Linked DNA regions of Homo sapiens: region 1 is linked to region 2. Evidence: promoter capture Hi-C in 16 types of primary human blood cells and fetal thymus (Javierre and others, 2016). All regions are on one chromosome and are shown on one strand. Each heading gives the region's core, a stretch centred on a gene start or on the middle of the fragment in contact. The rest is flanking DNA. Distances are from core to core; before and after follow the strand shown.

The links. Contacts are between HindIII fragments. The CHiCAGO score rates a contact against its expected background, and 5 or more counts as called.
Region 1: a fragment that was not itself captured here is called in contact with the fragment with the promoter of PAPPA-AS1 in region 2 in 1 of 17 cell types (M2 macrophages); the score reaches 6.8 in M2 macrophages.

What each region holds. Positions count from the first base shown.
Region 1 is chr9:116,161,633-116,164,944 of GRCh38, forward strand. The region is part of intron 1 of PAPPA (pappalysin 1); the gene reads left to right. Among named protein-coding and RNA genes, the nearest start is that of PAPPA, 9.5 kb to the left of the region's middle. The HindIII fragment of the contact is 1,267 bases long and covers 958-2,224 here.
Region 2 is chr9:116,398,948-116,402,209 of GRCh38, forward strand. PAPPA-AS1 (PAPPA antisense RNA 1) reads right to left here and starts at 1,659. Exons shown (of 1, transcript NR_103711.1): 1 at 1-1,659. PAPPA (pappalysin 1) reads left to right here. Exons shown (of 22, transcript NM_002581.5): 22 at 1-3,262. The HindIII fragment of the contact is 11,566 bases long and covers 701-3,262 here.

The DNA of each region.
Region 1 (3,312 bases), core at 341-2,840, 240 kb before region 2:
GAAATGCATACTGAAGTACTTGTGGGTAAAATTATGTTTTGTCTATTTTGTTTGTTTATTTGTTTAAAAAGCTCCAGAAAAAAAAAAAAAAAGGTTCTGGGGGTAGTGGTTGGTGAGAGATTAGCAAACTGATAACAATTGTTGAAACCAAGTGATTAAACCTTGGAGCTTTAATACATTTTTGTTCATGCTGTGGTGTGTGATTGAAGATTTCCATAATAAAAAGTTAAAAATACTAAAAGTGTTTGAGAGCCACAGGAGGAAGTGAAGTCTCAGTTCCCTGCGTGTTCTGTGACCTGAAAGGTTTGCAAATACGGAGACCACCGTTTAGAGAGGGTTAGGGACTCCCCCAAGGTCGCACAAAGATTAGCTGAAAGTCGTGACACAGCCCAGGCTTCAGATCTGAGGAGCTCCCCATCCCCTCCTCTCTGTACACTTGCAAACTCAAGTGAAAATGATTATCCAGGGAGAACTCGAGGGGAATAAAAGTGATGAGGGGAGCCTTAGGAGGAGCATGGAGAAGGGGCAAGTGGAGGCTTGCTCTGCAATAAGAAGCTTTTGAGTGAGAAAATTATTTGCTGTATGGGACTGCCCTACATATTGTGAAATGTTTAGCATCTTTGGCCCTGTTTATGAGAATTTCATGGGATCTGTTAGTGATTGTGACAGGCCCAGAAGTATTGTGACGATACACACACACATACTCATATACTCACAGGTCCACATACCCTTAGTTCTCGTTTTTCTGGTTCCTTATTTCTCTCCATCCCTAACTACCTGGAGAGCAATTCTAGAGCCTTCTAGAGGCCTGGGGCAGTGACCTGCAGGAGCATATGTTTACTGAGGAAGTATTTTGCAATGGTTGATCACAGGACTCAGGAATCAAACTGCCTGGTCAAACCCTGACTATTGCACCTGCTGGTTGTGTGACCTTGGGCAAGTTACTTAGTATCTCCAAGCTTCACTTTTCCCCTCTGTAAAGTGCAGATAATACTAGCTGTTACTTCATAGGGTTGTTTTGAAGATTAACTGGGCCTCCATGTGGAAAATGCTTAGTAATGGAATCTAGACCATGCGGTAACCCAGCAAACGTTAACTCATATCAGTATTATGTGTGCCAGCCATTGCCACGCATTATTTCTAATAATCTCAATAACTCTAGGAGTTAGACATACTTATCTCTTTTGGCAAAGCCAGGAATTGCCTTTTCCTCCCTTACAACTCAGGAAAGAGTTATTGCTGTCATCTTAACATAGAAAAATTAAAAATTTAAACAACTAAAATGAAAGGCTAACAAGATAAACACATTATTGTGTCATTTAAAAAAAAATAGTGCATGCTCATTGTAAAAAAAATCTCAGAAATGCAGACAAAGAACAAGAGACCAGGTAAAATTTGTCTATTTCCTGCCCAAGCATGCAACAACTATTTTTTGAGTTTCTGCTCTGTGCTGGGTACAGTTTTAGGCCTTGAGGACAGACCAGTCAACAAAAGAGAGAAACATCTCCGCCCTCAGGGAGTTTATATTCTGGGCAGTGGGTGTTGGGGAGAAGGTGGAGACAGACTATAAATGAATAAGCATATATATCCCATAATGTCAGGTGAATGTTTGTAAAGAAAAAGTTGAGAAGGAAGTCTAGGAATGCTGTGTGGGAGTGGGGATGCAGGAGGAGAGAGGAGTGGGATATGAAAAGAGTGGTCAAGGGAGGCCATCATCAGAGTAGCTTTGAAGAAGAGACCTATGAGCAGGCCTGAGGCTCTCTGGAGAAGGCCATGGTGTATCGCAAAAGGAGGAGCAATGCTTTGAGCTAGGAGATGTCAGTTCTAGCACTAGTTTGCTGTGTGACTTTAGGCAAGTCACTCTCCCTCTCAGAACCAGTTTTCACATCTGAACTTTGTGGTACTGTAGGGATTATTTGCACTAAAGACACTTCTACAGACACTTCCTAGGATTCTATAATCCTCATCAAGGCTGTCCTCAGACAAAACTGTGAAGTTGGCAATAGTTCCAGTTTTCTTCCTTTTCTGGTGTATTTTCCTCCACTAGGTGGTGCCTGTGCCTGTCACCCTCAGGGGCCAAGTGTGGACACATTTTCGGCTTCCACACCTCAGCAACACTGGGGAAAAAAGAAGATGGTACACCTTCTTGCTAAGTACCATTGACTGGTAACAACTTGGAATGTTACTGCTCCATTGGTGGATACTCTTTTAGGACTTCCCAGAAAGCTTTGTGTCACAAAGCAATGTAACAGTGGTAGAATTTCTAAGACTGACTGAAGACATTATTTGGGGAATATTGGTACTTCCTGATAGCTGGAATCCATCCTATTAATAATATAACTAATTCTAGCCCCCACAAATATCCAGAAAACTTGCTGAGTGACTCCCAGTCATCACTTACTGGGTGAATGCTAGCATGTTCATATTTTGTAATTTCTTAGGATATAAAGGCCATTCCAGACAAATTCCTGGACTTTGGAATAGACCACCGGCCTTGTAGTATTGCTTATCATTTTAATCAGATAACTCAGTGAATTAAAATACCAAAACTCTGGAGTCTGTCATCATTTTCCAGACTATTTTCCTTCAGAGGATCCCTGGAACTGTCATCTCTGAAGTATATCCAGCTTCCTCTCAACTCCCTCCTTCTTCTCTCTCTTCCTACTCCTCATACCCAGCTTATTTGCTTTGACCACTTGGATTTTTCTCCAAACAAGATAAAGAAAATGTGTTTGTTTTTTGGTATTATTTGCCACAAACCCAGGGTCCACAGAACTTGGAAGAATATAAGAGGTTCCCCTCTTCTACTTTAGATTGTAGAGAACCCTGGTCAGGTCTCAGATTCCAACCCACTTGGAGGAAGCTAAGACATAAAAGCTGGTCAGTAACAACTTGGAATATCGAAGTATGTGAGTAGGGGCAGCGTACCACTAGTTGCTGAGACCTGTTATAGCCTTGTGTGTTTAGGAAGCCAGTGGTCCAACCTGTACCTATTATCCTTGTAATCAAGAAGTCATTCCTATGCCTGTCCCGTATCCATTCCTGTTGCTCTATGAATCTGAAAGGTGGCTCGGCAGAATGTGGCCAAATGCATTTATATGGAGGGGGTTATTTTCCCCAGTGTGACTGCAGATCTTTCAGCTCAGAGGCTGATGAATGAAGAGAGAAGGCTGTGTTAATAGGCTAATCTTAAGATGCAAGGCACCCAGGCAGAAAACATAAAACATTGATAAATGTGATACTCAGTTTTGTGAAGTAAACTTCATTTAAGTCCAAAGAAACAAGGTGTGTCAAAGTCCAAGGACTCATCCA
Region 2 (3,262 bases), core at 409-2,908:
GTGGTGTTAACTACCTTAGAAGGTACAAGCTAAGAAATGTAACAGTATCAACCCTCCCAGTTGCTTAATTATACCCATAGGTAATACAAAAAGCTCTGAAGACCCAAAGATGACATTACTAATGATGTGATTTCAGGAGCCACAGAAGAACCTTACCAGCTTCCCTCAAATCAGTCCTTATCCTCTTTCTATCTTCACTCCCATCATCATCTATTTTCACACTATCCAGCTAAGCAAAGATTCCTGGAGGCTGACTTGTATCTTCAGACTCACAGAGTGAATTCAGCTCTTCTGAATCAAGACCCACCCAGTCTCTTTCATTCAGACCTGTTGCTAACAAATTTATATTTGCCAAGGATATTAGGCAAAAGAGGCTACTTGATTGGTGGCCAACCTCGTGCCCACATGGAAGGTATCTTTAATAGGGTCTTTTCAAACCTTAGTGGAGGAGGGTCAGCTCAATTTGGGCAATGCATTTGTTCCCAGTTTCATTTTCTTCCTGGGAATTAACTCGTCATTTCATTCCTTCAGTCATCTTCTGTGTAGGTGACCGGAGCACTGAGAGGCAGCTCTGATGCACTATTGTGTGTCAGCAGCTCAAAGGCCCTAAAACACTGAAGGTTCTGCATCTGAAGTATTAGATTGTTAGCAGCAAAATATGAAAGATGAGGTGGACAGTCCTCTAAGCCCTATTTAGGGAAGCTTTTCCAAGCCACAATCTTAACTACCTACCCAAAGGATTTGCATTACCCCCAGATTCTGTGCCAACAACCTTTTAAGGAAATACAGTCCTTGGGAAATGAGTTTTGATGGTGAATTGGGGTGTTAAGGAAGGGAAAGATTGTCATAGATGGTAGGGCTTTGAAAATGCAGGGTATCAGCTGCCACTCCTGGCTTCAACACATTGAGTCACTGCCTAGACGGTTCTCTTGGTCTTATTCCCATCCTGGCCAATGCTTAAATACTATTTGTTGAAAATAATTCTTTGAGACAGATTTCAGCTACCTCCCTTCCAGGTTCGATTTAACTTGGTTGTAATTGTCAATTTGTTGTTATAGGTCTTACCTGTGTGAAAGAAAGAAAAAGAAAGAAAGAAAGAAAGAGAAAGGAAATTATAAGGTCAAGTTAACAGTTTTGAGGTTTTGTGTTTTTTTCTGGAACTACTTCAAGTGAGAAAATAAAAAAAAATGGTGACAAAGCTGTACAGATAGAGATAATAGAAGACAAAGAGATTAAAAGGAAATAAAAATGCATGATTAAAAACTAAGAATAAAAAACCTATTTTTATGTTTCCTAAAGGAAATTGTTTATTCTACAGCCTCAGTAGGTAGACACAAACATAAAGATTTCCCTAGAAGACATAGAGTGGGATTTGATAACACTGTCTGTTATTTTCTGTACATTGTGGTAGGTCCAGGAAATATGACATTTTCCCCCTTGATGTGTTATTGTTGTTGTTGGGTGGGGTGGGCATTTTGTTTATTTGTTTGGTGGCAATCAGTGGTAGTAGGGAGTGGGAGGGCTTATATTGGTTTTTCCAGCTATTAAGGGGACATATTGTGTCGTTGTGCTTTTCACGTTATAAAATGTTTATATTTACCAGTACAGCACTGGGCTTTATAAAGACTGCACTCAGAACCACACTGCACAGTCCAGTTTTTTAAAAAGCTGCTACATGACAGACAGGTAATCCCACTGAGTGAGTTTTGAGAAACAAATCAAACGAAGTAAACAAGAAACATAAAAACCAAATAGCAAATGAATAAAAGCCTGTTCTTGTAACTTATTCAACTTTTGCCAAATTCCTACCAATCACTTGCTTTTTAAAAGAAATGTATAATAGCCAAAAGAGAAATTATGTCCCTGTTGTACAGAAGTTAGAATTTTTGACTCCAGGCAGCAGTTTGCTCAGTGATCTTGAACAAGTTATCCAATTGCCTCTACATTTGCATCAGTTTCTCTAGCTGCAAAATGGGGATAATACTATATACCTACCTCACAGTGGGAGGGCAGGAGATTTTGAGGCCCTGAGGTTTTAGGTGGGCTGTGAGGGCCAACGCTTGACACAAAGTCCATGGGTTATTATTCAAGAATGCACAGGCCCATCGGCCTTTTAGAAAGACAAGACAGGGAGTGCTTGTTTGATATTTCAAGGAATAAAGCCGGAGCTCCTGAATTGTAGTCCACCTTAAAAGAGAGACCTGTATTGGAGAATATTTTATTTTTTTGGCAAATTTGATCTTACCCTTTACCAGTTCTATAATTTGGTTAAAAGCTGATTATGTCCTACAATGTCAAAGTCAGCTAACTGTCGTCTACTTAAGACTTCTGGTCATTTCCAACTTATAGAGGAAGGGAGTCTCTAAAATCTCTTCTTCAGAAGGCACCTCACTTCTCAGACTTAAAATTCCACATCAAGTGTTCCATTAAAAGAAGATAAGGCATTCTGAGTGCAAACAAATGGGGGCTTCTTAAACTACACACCAGCAGTCAGTGAGGAAAACTTTGAACAATTATTGAGTTGCTTTCTTGGGTCTCTATAATCAATAACCTGTCTGCAGATATCTATCTATATAAAGATATTATATATAAATATAAATTTACATATATATGCACATGTATATATAGTTGTACATATATGTGTGTATATATATACTTAAATGTAATATTTACAAAATAAAACTGTGATCTCGTCTAGAGAAAATGTATTCATATTACAAACTGCTCTTCCATATTTATGTACCATATTATACCTTTTTATTATTGTTATAATTATTATGGGTATTTCTAATTAATATGATGTTGAAACCTGTTTGGCACCTTCTGGAAGCTACCAAAAAAATGACACTCCATTGAAGTGCTTAAAAGCTGTTCTCATAAGAATTCTTCTGGCCTATTGTAAAAAAGAAAAAAAAAAAGAAAAAGAAGAAAGACACAAAGAAAATAATCTAAACACCAAAAACTAAACACAATTCCAATCCTTTTTCTGTACCTCACGCGCATAAATTTGCTGCTCCTATTTTTTTTTCTGTTTATGTGTTTTTATGGATCTAAGTTAAATCTTTTGGCAATATATAAAAATGTAAATAGTAAACTTTATTTATTAAGAATGTCATCTTTTTTAATTTATATTTACACAATTGTTCATCTAATTTATTTTTTCTATACAGTTTTAAATACTCAGACATATTTTGCTGTTCATGATATTTTTATCCTGTTCTCATGGATTTGTTTTCCCATACTGTTTTCTCTGATCTCAATT